Linked DNA regions of Homo sapiens: region 2 is linked to region 1. The links are contacts of gene promoters, found by promoter capture Hi-C in human tissues and cell types (Jung and others, 2019). All regions are on one chromosome and are shown on one strand. Each heading gives the region's core, a stretch centred on a gene start or on the middle of the fragment in contact. The rest is flanking DNA. Distances are from core to core; before and after follow the strand shown.

Region 1 (7,424 bases), core at 3,574-6,073:
TTTTGAAAAAGGCCATTTATGCCCTATATTCTTATTATTTCTACCAATGAGAATAAACATCTGACAGCAACTCATCTGTTATTATATAAGAATACTATCTGGGCCGGGTGTGGTGGCTCACCCCTGTAATCCTAGCATTTTGGGAGGCCTAGGCGGGTGGATCACTAGAGGTCAGGAGTTCAAAACCAGCCTGGCCAACATGGTGAAACCCCGTCTCTACTAAAAATAAAAAAAAATTGGCCACGCATGGTGGTGGGCGCCTTTAATCCCAGCTACTCGGGAGGCTGAGGCAGGAAAATCGCTTGAACCCGGGAGGCGAAGTTTGCAGCGAACTGAAGTCGTGCCACCGCACTCCAGCCTGGGTGACATAGCGAGACTCCATCTCAAAAAAAAAAAAAAAAATCTGTAACAATGGAAACAAACTTCAAATGTTCTTTAAGGTCAGGCGCGGTGGCTCATGCCTGTAATCCCAGGGTTCGAGACCAGCCTGGCCAACGTGGTGAAACCCTGTCTCTACTAAAAATACAAAAATTAGCTGGGTGTGCTAGCAGGCGTCTGTAATCCCAGCTACTCAGGAGGCTGAGGCAGGCGAATTGCTTGAACCCAGGAGGCAGAGGTTGCAGTGAGCCAAGATCATGCCACTGCACTCCAGCCTGGGCAACAGAGGGAGACTCTGTCTCAAAAAAAAAAAAAGTTCTTTAAAAAATTGTGTTATTCCACTTACACGTGGTACTTAGAAGGCAAAATCATAGAGTCAGTGAGTAGAATGGCGGTTCCTGGGGGTTGGGGAAAATGGAGAGTTATTGTTGTAATGGGTACAGAGCTTCAGTTTCACAAGATGATGGCAATGGTTGCACAGTATCAATGTACTTAATACTACCGAACTATACACTAAAAATAGTTAAGTCTTGTAAATTTTATATGTATCTTACCACAATAAAAAAATTGAAGGAGCCAGGTGTGATGGCTCACGCCTGTAATCCCAGCACTTTGGGAGGTTGAGGTGGGTGGATCACTTGAGGTTAGGAGTTTAAGACCAGCCTGGCCAACATGGTGAAACCCTGTCTCTACTAAAGATACAAAAAGTAGCCAGGCGTGGTGACAGGTGCCTGTAATCCCAGCTACTTGGGAAGCTGAGGCAGGGGAATCACTTGAACGAGGCAGAGGTTGCAGTGAGCCGAGATTGCGCCACTGTACTCCAGCCTGTGCAACGGAGCGAGGCTCTGTCGCAAAATAAATAAATAAATAAATAAATAAATAAATAAATAAATAAATAAAGATAGTATCAATCCCAAAAGTAGGCTTAGAAAAAGTAATTGAGGGGGCCAGGTGCAGTGACTCATGCCAGTAATCCCAGCACTTTGGGAGGCCCAGGGGGGCAGATCATAAGGTCAGGAGATCGAGACCATCCTGGCTAATACGGTGCAACCCCATCTCTACTAAAAATACAAAAAATTAGCTGGGCATGGTGACACGCGCCTGTAGTCTCAGCTACCCGGGATGCTGAGGCAGAAGAATCGCTTGAACCCAGGAAGCAGAGGTTGCAGTGAACCGAGATGGCACCACTGCACTCCAGCTTAAGCAACAGAGTCTCCGTCTCAAAAAAAAAAAAAAAGAAAGAAAGAAAGAAAAAGAAAAAGTAATTGAGGGAGAGTGACAGATGCAATCAATCAAAATGACCATTCACCAATCATAAAATCCTCATAAAAATGATAAAGCTCTGTAGCAAAGTAATTGGGATTTCTAACACTTTTTGTGCCATGAACCCCTTAAGCAGTCTGGTGAAGCCTCTGAATAGATCTTCTCAGAATAATATTTTTAAATGTATAAAATAAAATACATAACAAAGGAAACAAATTATAATGAAGTAGTTATCAAAAAATTTTTAAAATATGCCTCTTTATTAACAAGCAAAATTAAATAAGATCTAACAGCTTTTTAAATAATTACTATGATTTCAAAGTAGCAAAAAGTATGGACAATATTCTGAAATATCAGCAACTATAATGTGATATGAAAATATTTCTGATTTTGATTGATGACAAATCCACAGACACTTCTAAGACTACTGTGGATGTGTTGCCCACATTCATAGGCCAAGGAAACGTTGTGTTTCAGTTAGAGCTTAGTGAAAATAAAGTTCACAGAATCTCTGAATTCTATTCAAGGACCCTTTGGAGGCCTGTAAACCCCAGGTGAAGCTCTGAAAGCCAAAAAAGAGAAGTGTTTCTGTAAAGTATATTTCACCAGATTACCTGGCAGCAACCAGAAAAGACAATTTAAGTTTCACTATTTACAGAACTTTATCATACAGACAAAGCTTTCTAAATTTCAGAACAACTGTTTTTAAAAAGAAATACTAGTCCGGGTGCGGTGGCTCAAGCCTGTAATCCTAGCACTTTGGGAGGCCAAGGCGGGTGATCTCCTGGGGTCCAGGAGTTGGAGTCCAGCCTGACGAACATGGCAAAATCCCGTCTCTACTAAAAATATAAAAATTAGTGGGGCGTGGTGGCGCGCGCCTGTAACCCCAGCTTACTCAGGAGGCTGAGGCAGAAGAATTGCTTGAACCCAGGAGACGGAGGTTGCAGTGAGCCGAGATCGCGCTACTGCACTCCAGCCCGGGCAACTTAGCAGATTCCATCAAGACAGACACACAAAAAGAGGCCAGGCGCGGTGGCTCACGCCTGTAATCCCAGCACTTTGGGAGGCCGAGGCGGACGGATCACAAGATCAGGAGATCGAGACCATCCTGGCTAACACGGTGAAACCCCGTCTCTACTAAAAATACAAAAATTAGCCAGGCGTGGTGGCGGGCGCCTGCAGTCCCAGCTACTCGGGAGGCTGAGGCAGGAGAATGGCGTGAACCCAGGAGGCGGAGTTTGCAGTAAACTGAGATCTGGCCACTGCACTCCAGCCTGAGCGACAGAGCGAGACTCTGTCTCAAAAAAAAAAAAAAAAAAAAAAGAAAGAAAATAAGACAGACAGAAAGACAGATAGTAGATGGAAAGAAAGACAGAAAGGAAAGAAAGACAGGAAGGAAGGAAAGGAAGGAAGGAAGGAAGGAGAAAAGAAAAGAAAAAGAAAGAAAACAGTCGTTTTGAAAAGAAAAAAAAATAACTGCCTATCTCCTATGATTCAAAAATGTTCACGGACTCTTGGCTACAAGAGATCAGTAACACTTTCAAAGAAGCCGTCCCTGACCAAAGGGAACACACACATACTTCATCCACCCACTGGAAACTGTATTATTCTTTGTCTACTCCACTAGATTTAAACATGAGGGTGAGGACTTATTCACCACTCTACCTCCAGCACTAAAAGAAGGCCTGACACACAGTGGACCCTTGACAAATATTAATATATATCAGATAAATGGATTAAAATATGTCACTTTAAAGTGTTTGCAAATCGAATTCCTGGAATCGGGACATCTACTGGTTGAGGCTTAACATCGATTTAGGATTAAATTTACTCCCTTACATTTATATATCATTTTACAAAATGCTTCTGCCCACGTTACCTCATTCAATCCTTCCTTCTGTAGTAAAGAAACTGGAAGATATATTTAGTAAACAATAAGGATTTTATAATTGGCTTAGAAGTTAGATAAAAGGGGCCTTTTTAAAAATCCATCCAAGGGTCATAAACCGATAAGCCAAAATAAAACGAATTTGTCTAGAAGTCAGTCATTATAACAGGATCTAGCCTCGTGGTCTGACTTCCACAGATTTGAGGAAGAGAAAAAAAGTTTATTTTCCAGACTCTCTTGGCTGGGGCGCCATTCTTTCACAGCTTCAGATAAACAGAAAGAAAAGGTAAACAACATGCGCCACTCTTAGGAAACTACCTCCCGGTCAAGTTGGGAAAGCCAGCAAAGGACTGCTGAAACACCCAAGTACTTCCGAACCAACTCCTGCGGGACTTCTCCCCATCTCTCCCGCCGCTGTCCTGCGGGCCCCGGGGCTTGCCTGACGCCGGGAAGTATTGTGAACCTTGTTTATGTCCCAGTGTCAGGGCCGCACAGTGATAGTAACATCTCGGGTATCGCGCGGCTTGCGTCCGGGACGGCCAGCTGGGTGCCCCGAGTCCTGGGGGACCCTAGTAGGGACAGATCCTCAGCCGAGCCCCTCCTGGAGCCCCCAACGGGCCCGAGGGGGATCCCGGCCAGGCTGCGGAAGAAGAGCCGCAGCCATGGCAGGCGGCGGTCCCCGGCAGGGCTGAGTGGGATCTGGAGACATTTTTTAATAACAGGAGCATTTTGTGCCTTTCAGGGTTTCTACAAAGTGGCCGCATTCCGGCCCCAAAGTCAGCAGGCCTGAAAGCGTGCAGGCAGGCGCGTGGGAAGGAGTTTACTTCCAATTTGAGCAACGGCTGCTCCAGAGGTTGGCAGAGCCCCATTCCACGGGGAAAGTGGTGGGTGCCGGGCGAAGCGCCGCGCATTCCCTCACACTCCCCGGGTGCAGCAGGCCTCGTGCCCTCCCCGGGGCCCCCAACCATTGGCCAGTCCACCCCCCCCCCGACAGGCTGAGGGCTCAGGAGTGGCACTATTTCGTTACCTCTCTGCGCGGAGGCGAGTGAGGAGGTGATGAGCCGGACGGCCGCCGCGCCGCAAGTACAAGCACCGCAGCTGGGCATCTCCGCGAGGCCTAGGCCGGGGCTTCGCCCCCTGAGGACCTCCGGGTCACAGCGGCGTGAATCCTGCCCGCAAGGCGCGCTGACTCGGTTCCGAACCCTTTCGCGGGCCCTAGACCCCGTGGAGAGTTCACCTGCCCGGCAGCCAGGCCTTCACGCTTCTCTGCCCCACAGCCGTCTATTCACCAGAGTAGACACCCAACCCCCCCCTCCCTTCCCCTCCTTCTCCTTCTACCCCCACCCCCAGCCTACTGGGCCCGGGGAGCTTGCGCGCGCCTGCGCCCTAGGCCCGGGGAGGGGGCGGAGGGCGTGGGCACGCGCCGTGTTTGCGAGCTGGTGAAGCTACGTGAGGCGAAGGCGAGGGGGTGGTGCCCTGGGCGCCAATGAGTTCCCTACGGCAAGCGTCTAGCCCCAACTGGGGCGACTACAGGTCCCGACGCTCAAGGTTGCCAAAAGCCCTTTTATCCTAAAGTTGAAAGGTTTTGCGATAGACGCGGAGAGATGCATGCCGGGACTTGTAGTCCCGAGTCGTCATAGTCGAGCTCTTCCGGTCACTTTTAGTGGGCGGCAGGGAAGGTCAAGGTGAGGCTGGTGGCTTAACCCTCCAGGGGGAAGTCTCTAAAGTGCCTTGGTAGGCGCTGGATGCTTCAGATTCACTAAATTTCTTCCCCCGGAATTCCACATCCTGTGTTCCTTATCTTCTCATTCTCCTTAGTTTCATCACTTGTAACATGGAGTTGGTATTGTCAGTTAGTTCCCTGAGCAGCAATTGTTAGTTGGTAACAGCTCCGTCTCCTTGTTCTTTCAGGCCTCGTGGTGATAAAGCTTCTAGCTGTTGCTAGTCCGTGGGTGCTTTAAAGTCTTGAGGGTTTTCTTTTCTTTCTTTCTTTTTTTTAATTTAGTAAAGATGAGGTCTCCCTATGTTGCCCAGGCTGGTCTCAAACTCCTGGGCTCAAGTGATCCTCTCGCCTCGCCCTCCCAAAGTGCTGGGATTACAGGCGTGAGCCACCGCACCCGGCCGTGATTAAGGATGGCACTGCATAGATAACCTCTGGTCAGGTTCCTATCAGGCCATCCTCTCAAGTTATGAATTCAAAAGCACAGAGCCGGCTGGGCGTGGTGGCTCACACCTGTAATCCCAGCACTTTGGGAGGCCGAGGCAGGTGGATCACGAGGTCAGGAGTTTGCGACCAGCCTGACCCACATGGTGAAACCCCATCTCTACTAAAAATACAAAAATTAGGTAGGTGTGGTGGCGTACTCCTGTAATCCCAGCTACTCAGGAGGCTGAGGTGGGAGAATTGCTTGAACCCAGGAGGCGAAGGTTGCAGTGAGCCGATATCGTGCCATTGCACTCCAGCCTGGGCGACAGAGCGAGACTCCGTCTCAAAAAAAAAAAAAAAAAACCCAGAGCCATCTGAGATTATCCCTGTGAGAAAATGGATCCTTCACCAGGAAAGTGATGGCAAATACTTGTGGTCACATCAGCCCTTCCACATCACACCTACTTTCAGCTGTTTTCTGACAGATTAATGACGCTTTAAAAAGAAAGTCAAGTGCAGTTTTCCAGCTCAAATAGTTTACACTGGAGGAGTTAACTCCTTGAGTTATTTACTTTTTGCGAACTACATAGCTGAAGGCACATAACTTTTTTTTTGAGACAGAGTCTCCATCTGTCACCCAGGCTGAAGTGCAGTGGCACCATCTCAGCTCACTGCAACCTCTGCCTCCTGGGTTCAAGTGATTCTCCTGCCTCAGCCTCCTGAGTAGCTGGGATTACAGGCATGCGTCACCATGCCCGGTTAATTTTTGTATTTTTAGTAGAGGCAGAGTTTCACTATGTTGGCCGTGTTAGTTTCAAACCCCTGACCTCAAGTGATCCGCCTGCCTCAGCCTCCCAAAGTGCTGGGATTACAGGCATGAGCCATTGCACCCAGTCAGGCACATAACTTTTTATGTCTTCATTTTATGTAAAACTTTTTCTTTTGTCTTTTTTTTTTTTTTTTTTTTGAGATGGAGTCTCACTCTGTGGCCAGGCTGGAGCGCAGTGGTGCGATCCTGGCTCACTGTAACCTCTGGCTCCTCGGTTCAAGCGATTCTCCTACCTCAGCCTCCTGAGTAGCTGGGACTACAGGCGCACACCACCACGCCCAGCTAGTTTTTGTATTTTTAGTAGAGACGGGGTTTCACCATGTTGGCCAGGATGGTTTTGATCTATTGACCTCATGATCCGCCTGCCTTGGCCTCCCAAAGTGTTGGGATTACAGGTGTGAGCCACCATGCAGGCCCTCTTTTTCTTTTATACTTGATTTTACCTCCCAGCATTATGAGTTGCTATAAGAAATATTTTAATAAATTAGAGTCCATGAGTCTTAACTCACTCAATATTAACCCTGATTTTTTTAGATGAGGAAACAGGCCTATTGAAAAGGCAGATACTTGACCAGGGTCACATAACAAGTGAAAAACAGAGAATAGAGCTGGAGTCTTCTGGCTTTAAAACTGTATTTCTCAAGCTTTTCTTTTTTAACCCAAGACTCTTTTCGATAAACATAAAAATCTCACTTCTCGGCCAGGCGCAGTTTCTCACGCCTGTAATCCCAGCACTTTGGGAGGCCAAGGCAGGTGGATCACCTGAGGTCAGGAGTTCCAGACTGGCCTGGCCAACATGGTGAAACCCCGTCTCTACTAAAAATACAAAAATTAGCCGGGTGTGGTGGCGCACGCCTGTGATCCCAGCTACTCGGGAGGCTAAGGCAGGAGAATCGCTTGAACCTGGGAGGCAGAGGTTG
Region 2 (7,424 bases), core at 2,252-4,751, 610 kb after region 1:
GGTAGCCATCTGAGGAGTCATATCTTTGACTCAGCACTTTTTCAAATTTCTGAAAATGATCACTTCTCAACATTTTCCTCAAATTAACAATTTTACCTCTTTCAGCAATTCCTTATAAGTTGAATTTTTACTTCTTAAATTATCTGCAGGGGAGTTGTTTTAAAAATATGTATTTTAACTGTCATTGACCACGAAGTATACTCCTCTGACTTTCTTGAAGTGGTAGACAATATTTTCATAACTTTTAACAAATTCACTTCAGAAAACATTTGTATACAAAACACTGCACTAGGCACAGAAGGAAAGCAATGACAGATAAGCACACATTAGAGGCAAAAAGTATTTCCTAGGCATATAACTTTAGTAAAAGTCAAACTATGACAAATTCTATGCTAGATGGATAAACTCGTTGCTATGGGAGCCCAAGCGAGTGGAGTGATTAATTCTCATTGTGAGAATTGAAGGTGACAAAATAGACAAAATAGATGGCATTTGGACCAACCCTGAGAGAAACTGGACTTTCTCTGAAGGATAAGGACATCGTTGTTTGGGGAACGGGGCTGAGGGTGGTACAAGGAAGGAAAGGTGTGTTTGTTTGTTTGTTTTTACTTTGCATCTTTATAATAGAGCTAACAAAAGAAAGAGATGCTCATAAATTGTTGCAATACTTTGATTGTCTTTGGGAGTGGCCAGAGGTTCAAATTCTTTGGAAGGATGGATATCTGTGCTGACTTGCAGGAAATATGAGTCAGCTTTTCTCATGAACTCAGCACTGTTGTTATAGCTAGGCTATTTGGGAAACCTGAAGCAGAACAAATCAGACACCACAAGTCTTTTCTTTTTATTGATTGGCCCAGACATGCATCCTACAAGGGTGGACAACAAGAATGCCCTTTTTATTGTCAAGACTTAAAGGAACTCTGCCAGCAAGGGGAAACACCTGCAATTGAGAATAAACTAAAAAAAAAATTTAAAAAAAGCCCTCCTCTTTTCTGTCTATATAATCACTCAGAATAGGAGACACACACGTCTTTAGTCCATACCTCTCTCCTGCACTTCAGGATTGTGTATTCAACTGCCTCCAGATAGCTCAGTCCCAAGTATACCTGAAATTCAGCATTTAAAGGTGAAGTCATTATCTTTACCCCAAACCTGTTACTCCTATAATTTCTCATTTCCTGAATAATTTATAGTTGAACTCACCATGCACCTAAAAGCTAAAGCCGCCTGTGGAGACTGAATTTTTTTTTTTTTAGGAGTTCGAGACCAGCCTGTCCAACATGGTGAAACCCTGTCTCTACCGAAAATACAAAAATTAGCTGGGCATGCACCTGTAGTCCCAGCTACTCTGGAGGCTGAGTCAGGAGAATCACTAGAACCCAGGTGGCGGAGGTTACAGTGAGCCAAGATCATGCCACTGCACTCCAGCCTGGGAGACAGACTCCATCTCAAAAAAAAAAAAAAAAAAAAAAAAAAAAAAGTCAAAACCTGAGTCATCAACTCCTCTTTTTCCCTCATTCATTGACACCTAATTAATCTTGAAAAAGAATTGTTGTCATCTCCTTAACATCAGTAGTATCCTCCCTCACTTCATCCCCATTCCCACTGACCTAGTTCAAACCCACACCTTTTGGTTTGTTTTTTAGCCTGAAATTTTGCAGTAGTCATCTAATTGGATTTCCTATCTCTCTCTCTCTCTTTTTTTTTTGAGATAGAGTCTCTTTCTGTTGCCCAGGCTGGAGTGCAGTGGCGCAGTCTTGGCTCACTGCAACCTCCACCTCCCAGGTAACTGGGATTACACCTCCTGAGTAACTGGGATTACAGGTGCATGCCACCATGCTCAGCTAATTTTTGCATTTTTAGTAGAGAGGGGACTTCACCATGTTGGCCAGGCAACGAGCTCATCTCAAACTCCTGACCTCAAGTGATCCACCAGCCTCGGCCTCCCAAAGTGCTGGGATTACAGGCGTGAGCCACCACGCCCAGCTGGATTTTCTATCTCTTCTCTTTCCTTCTTCATCCATCCCTGTGTTGGCAGGCTGATTTTTCTAAGGAAACATGATCAGTTGTTCCAGACATCACTGGAGATTCCTAGCTTCCTCCTCTCCTTTCTATTCCTGGTGGAAAGTTCATCAATGTCCAGTCCTGATGTTACCTAAGAAGAGCAGGGGACTAGGGCCTATGCTTCTCTCTCCCCTACCCCTCTCTAGTGTGGTGGAGATAGTCTCTCATTTGGAACACTTTCAGACTGTCAACACAAGGCTCTTAATTGAGAGAAAGCATTTAAGCTGCTGCCGCCCCTAAAAGCATCTTGTTCTTTCCTACGTATGTGCCTGCAGACAAAGAAATTGATCAGTTAGTTATATCAGGTGCGCCAAATCAAGGGCAAAGTTAGTCCAGAAGGGAGAAACTCTTAACTATTAGCTTATTCAAGATTTGGAGAACAATAGACTTTTAATAATAAACATTTAAATTTAAAACAAAAAAGATTTCTAAAGCCTCTTGTAAGGTGGTTACCTTGTTAATTAAATAATCCCCCAAAGCTATTTTGGGCTCTCTAGTGTCAGCATCACTTTATTATCTCCTAGAAATGGAAAGCCTTCCTCTACATTTCCCATTCATAACCCTGCAAGTATTCATATCTGGTTGTAATTATCTTAACGGCAGATTTAATTTTAATAAACATTGATGTATTAGATTTATGTCATAATAACTTACATAGTTTAAAATTATGCTAAAAGAGAAACAGAAGGAAGTCGAATTGAGATGAGGCTTTTACTTGACTATATTAGATCTGAAATGGAAGAAAGGCTTTTATTTTATTTTCTTTAAAATTTTTTTACTTTGTTGAGATGGCATTTTGCTATTGTTGCCCCAGCTGGAGTGCAATGGCACGATCTTGGCTCACTGCAACATCTGCCTCTGGGGTTCAAACGATTCTCTTGCCTCAGCCTCCCAAGTAGCTGGGATTACAGGCATGCGCCACCACGCCCAGCTAATTTTTGTATTTTTAGTGGAGACGAGGTTTCACCATGCTGGTCAGGCTGGCCTCAAACTCCTGACCTTAGATGATTCACTCACCTCGGTCTCCCAAAGTGCTAGGATTACAGTTGTGAGCCACCACACCTGGCCGAAAGAAAGGCTTTTGAAGATGGCACAATCAGGGGGTGCAAACTGCTCCCTACCTGTGCAGTTCTCTCTGGAAGGTAATGGATGGTACAGTTGAAGAAAAGAGATCCACAGAACCCTTGATGTCAGGCTAAAGAGAGGATATAATTATACAGCTCATTTTTTTTGTTTTTTGGGTTTTTTTTTTTTTTTTGGTTTTTATTTGTTGGTTTTGAGACAAGGTCTCACTATGTTGCACAGGCTGGTCTCAAACTCCTGGGCTCAAGTGATCCTCCTGCCTCAGTCTCCCTAATAATACAATTCATTTTTAACTAGCTGTATGCTAAAAGGGAATGGGGAATTAGTGGCATTATGAAAAGAGACAAGAAACATATTCTTCCATTTCAAATTCTGATGATCACATAAAGTAAGGCCCTGTTTGCTGCAAGGGTAGGGCCAGGAGTTGAAATACTAAGGGTAATAAAAATGGTCATCAGTTGCAAAGGAAGATCTCAAGGTTAGAGTTTAGGTAACATGTAGGACAATTGGACAAGGGTAGGGCTAAATGGATTGGGCTATAAAAAAGTTAATGTGAGGCAGGCAATTTTTAAAAAATGGATTTACAGTTTATCATCTGACCTACATCATAATGTCTTCATGAGAATGACACTCATAAATTGATTTCATGTTTCTCTGATCCAGAACATAGGATTATTTTTAGCAGGAATGAATCTCAGAGATCATCTAGTGAACATTTCATTTTCAAAAAGTGACCATTTCCCTCTGCGGCTTGTCCAAAGTCATATACAGTACACCCAAAAGCATGAGAAGAGCTAGGACTAGAATCCAGATTCCTAGATTCCTAGTTTTTTAGTTTGTCTTTTACATAAATATCAATCGGTTCTTGGAATTCAGCATTCCAAACTCCCCATGAAATACACTGGATACATAGGAAAATCCTATTTTGGAGATGAAGAAACTAAAGCTCAGAAAGGCGTAATGAGTTTTCCCAAATCACATGGCTAGACGCCTTACAATCCCTGGGCCAATAGGCTTCTACCAAACCACACTGCCTTGTGGATTTTTAAAAAGTAAAATCTTAAATGCCATGTGCCTAGGCATAGAATTCATTCCCTCAATCTTTGTACTGTTATATACAATGCACTCTGCTAGTTGTCAGGAAAGATTACAAGACTATTTATTTTGTAAGACTAGATTTCTATTTTGCACGACTGAATATTGAACATTACCTAATTATTAGGGAAATGCATGTTTTTTGGTGGTTGATAGCTAGCAAGAAGTAAGTCTTGGTATACTACAACATTAGGAATATTTGTAAACTTTCACCTAAGGATGGGCTTCATTCAGATTCTTTACTGTTAATATATTACCCCATCCAGCTGGGTGCGGTGGCTCACATCTGTAATCCCAACACTGTGGGAGGCCAAGGCGCGTGGATCATGAGGTCAGGAGATCAAGACCATCCTGGCCAACATGGTGAAACCTTGTGCCTACTAAAAATACAAAAATTAGCCGGCGTGGTGGTGTGCCCCTATAATCCCAGCTACTCAGGAGGCTGAGGCAGGAGAATCGCTTGAACCTGGGAAGCGGAGGTTGCAGTGAGCCAAGATCGTGCCACTGCACTCCAGCCTGGGCGACAGAGTAAGACTCCATCTAAAAAACGGAAAAGAAAAAAAGAAAGAAAGAAAAAAAGAGTTCAGTGAAACTGGCCAAGTTGCATTAGAAGGAGAAAGTCAGTAGAGGTTAGTGTTGCAATCTGTAAATATACGTAAGGAATAGATCTAAGGAAGAAACTAAAAAAAGTAAGCAGAATGAAAGTATGGCCAGTAGTGAAACTATAATTTAGGGTAAGAAGTGGTTGCAGCTTTAGGAGAGTTTGCTGCTGGATTGTTTAGTTGACCCTTTATTTTACTTACTTAGGTTTGGTTTTATTTTTCTACAAAACGTATGCAAAGTCTAACACATTGCCTATGTAAATTTACTATGAACTACAAAATCTAATATAGAAGCTTTATTAGTACTTCAACTAAGGCACATATTTAAGAAAAAGCAGAATTTTAGAATGTTAGTAAGTCCTATGTCTAAAAACAATCAATGTAAAACAAATATTCATACCTAGAGAACACAGTGAAACTGTTTATAAGGAACTACCAAATGCAAAATAGACTCTAACTGATGTTATATAGAGTTTTCCAAAGCAACAGGGAAGTGGAAACCAGCACATTTGGGGATTAGAGTCTATTGGAAATAGTTACAGATGAAAGTTTTGGGAAAAATCGATAATGCCCACCCCAGTTCTCAGAACTGAGGAATTCAAAGAATTTGAATAACTGAAGCAGAAGTTCACATGGGTAAACAAGAATGCCATCTAGACTGGATGTAACTAAGCTGCTAACTAGAGTGGCTCTGAAAATATCTTCCAAAAAACTTTGCTCTTGTCACTACTGTCACTTTGAATTAAGAGAGAAAGATGTATGGCTTAAATGAGTGCACTGCCTGTGAGACAAGGTTTTGTTCCATATGTTAACCAGCTGTCGAGTAAAATTTGTCATTTTCCAGGACTGAAACAAGAAAGACACTAGTGATATATGTTTTGTTTGGAAGAGACTATGCAAAGCTTTGTACCATGATTATTAGCCTATCATTCCTAGGAAGCTTCATACCTGGGACCTAAGAAACCTCACTCAATATTTTTCTTTTTGGCCTAAATTTTTTGAAATAGGGAGTTACAATGCTAATTTTTTTCAAAAACTGTGCAGATACCTCTGGGAAACTTTTGTAAGGTCCTTTTAAAATATATATATATATTATATATATATAATATATATATATTATATATAATATATATAATATATATAAATATATATATAATATATATAATATATATAATATATTAAATATATATATAATATATATAATATATATATATAAATATATATATAATATATTATATATAATATATAATATATAATATATAATATATATAATATATATTATATATATAAATATATAAATATATAATATATATTTATAATATATATATAAAATATATTTATGTTATAAATATATAAAATATATTTATGTTATAAATATATAAAATATATTTATGTTATAAATATATAAAATATATTATATATATAAAAATATATAAATATATAAAATATATTTTATATATTTAAAATATATAAAATATATAAAAATATATAAAATATATATTATGTATATTTTATATATTTAAAATATATAAAAATATATATAAAATATATATATATATAACTTTAGCTGGGCATGGTGGTATATGCCAGTAGTCCTACCTACTGGGAAGGCTGAGGCAGGAGGATCACTTGAGCCCAGGAGTTCAAGGATGAAGAAAGCCATGATCGCACCACTGCACTCCAGTCTGGGTGACAGAGTGGGACCCTGTCTCTATTAAAAAACAAACAAACAAAAATCTATAACTTCAGAGGGAGTAGGAAAAGGAATTTTATTTTTAGCCAGCTGGGCATGGTGGGAGGCTCCTGTAGTCACAGCTACTTAGGAGGCTGAGGTGTGCCTGAGCCCAGGAGTTTGAGACCAGCCTGAGCAACATAGTGAAACCCCATCTCTAAATCAAGGAAAGAGAATTTTTGCATAGGATGAGGACTTGAGTAGAAGGCCTGGACATGAGGTAACTCATGGAAGGACTGTTTTTTTGTTGTTGTTTTATTTTTTTGTTTTGCTTTGTTTTTTGTTTTATTCACAACTGAGAAATTGTTAAGATATTAACAAATCCTAGTCCAGATTCAGGGATACTGGGGAGAAAACCCTGACTATTTTTTGTTTGTTTGCTTTTTAACTAACTACCTTCCTTCCACTCCAAAAACAAACCCAACTATATATTAATCATTCCCCGCTTTTGAGTATTTTATAATCAAGCCTATAATTGTTTGAAGGACAAATCAGCTCTTTTATTACACTACGTGTCACTCATTTTGTGAACAGTTGTCCCAGTTCTTAAGTACATAGTTTATAACAACCTATGTGTTTGTATAGGATGATTGTTAATTATCATCATCAAAAACATTCACATGTCTATATATATCCACACAAGTAGGCATTTACAAAGGAAATTCCAAAGACATATTCCCTTTCCTCAATCAGCCAATAATAACATTGACCCAAGACAATTAGTTTATGTGATAGATTTCTTGTTTCTCATTTTTATTCCTAAACCCCATCTCAAACCATGAAACCTCAAAAGGAATTGTGTAGGATCATATACCTTATTGGTACTCGATAAATGATGATCAACTGTT

What was found. Contacts are between HindIII fragments. The study calls those that stand out against the background at their distance.
Region 2: a fragment that was not itself captured here is called in contact with the fragment with the promoter of CLPX in region 1 in 1 of the 25 tissues and cell types used here (dorsolateral prefrontal cortex).

The regions. Positions count from the first base shown.
Region 1 is chr15:65,180,519-65,187,942 of GRCh38, forward strand. It overlaps CLPX (caseinolytic mitochondrial matrix peptidase chaperone subunit X), which reads right to left and starts at 4,824. Exons shown (of 14, transcript NM_006660.5): 1 at 4,557-4,824. The coding sequence starts at 4,635. RefSeq lists an enhancer at 4,457-5,341 and a silencer at 4,763-5,072. The HindIII fragment of the contact is 6,593 bases long and covers 1-6,302 here.
Region 2 is chr15:65,796,014-65,803,437 of GRCh38, forward strand. All of the region lies in intron 1 of LOC105370866 (a long non-coding RNA gene), which reads left to right. Among named protein-coding and RNA genes, the nearest start is that of DENND4A, 7.4 kb to the left of the region's middle. The HindIII fragment of the contact is 3,881 bases long and covers 1,562-5,442 here.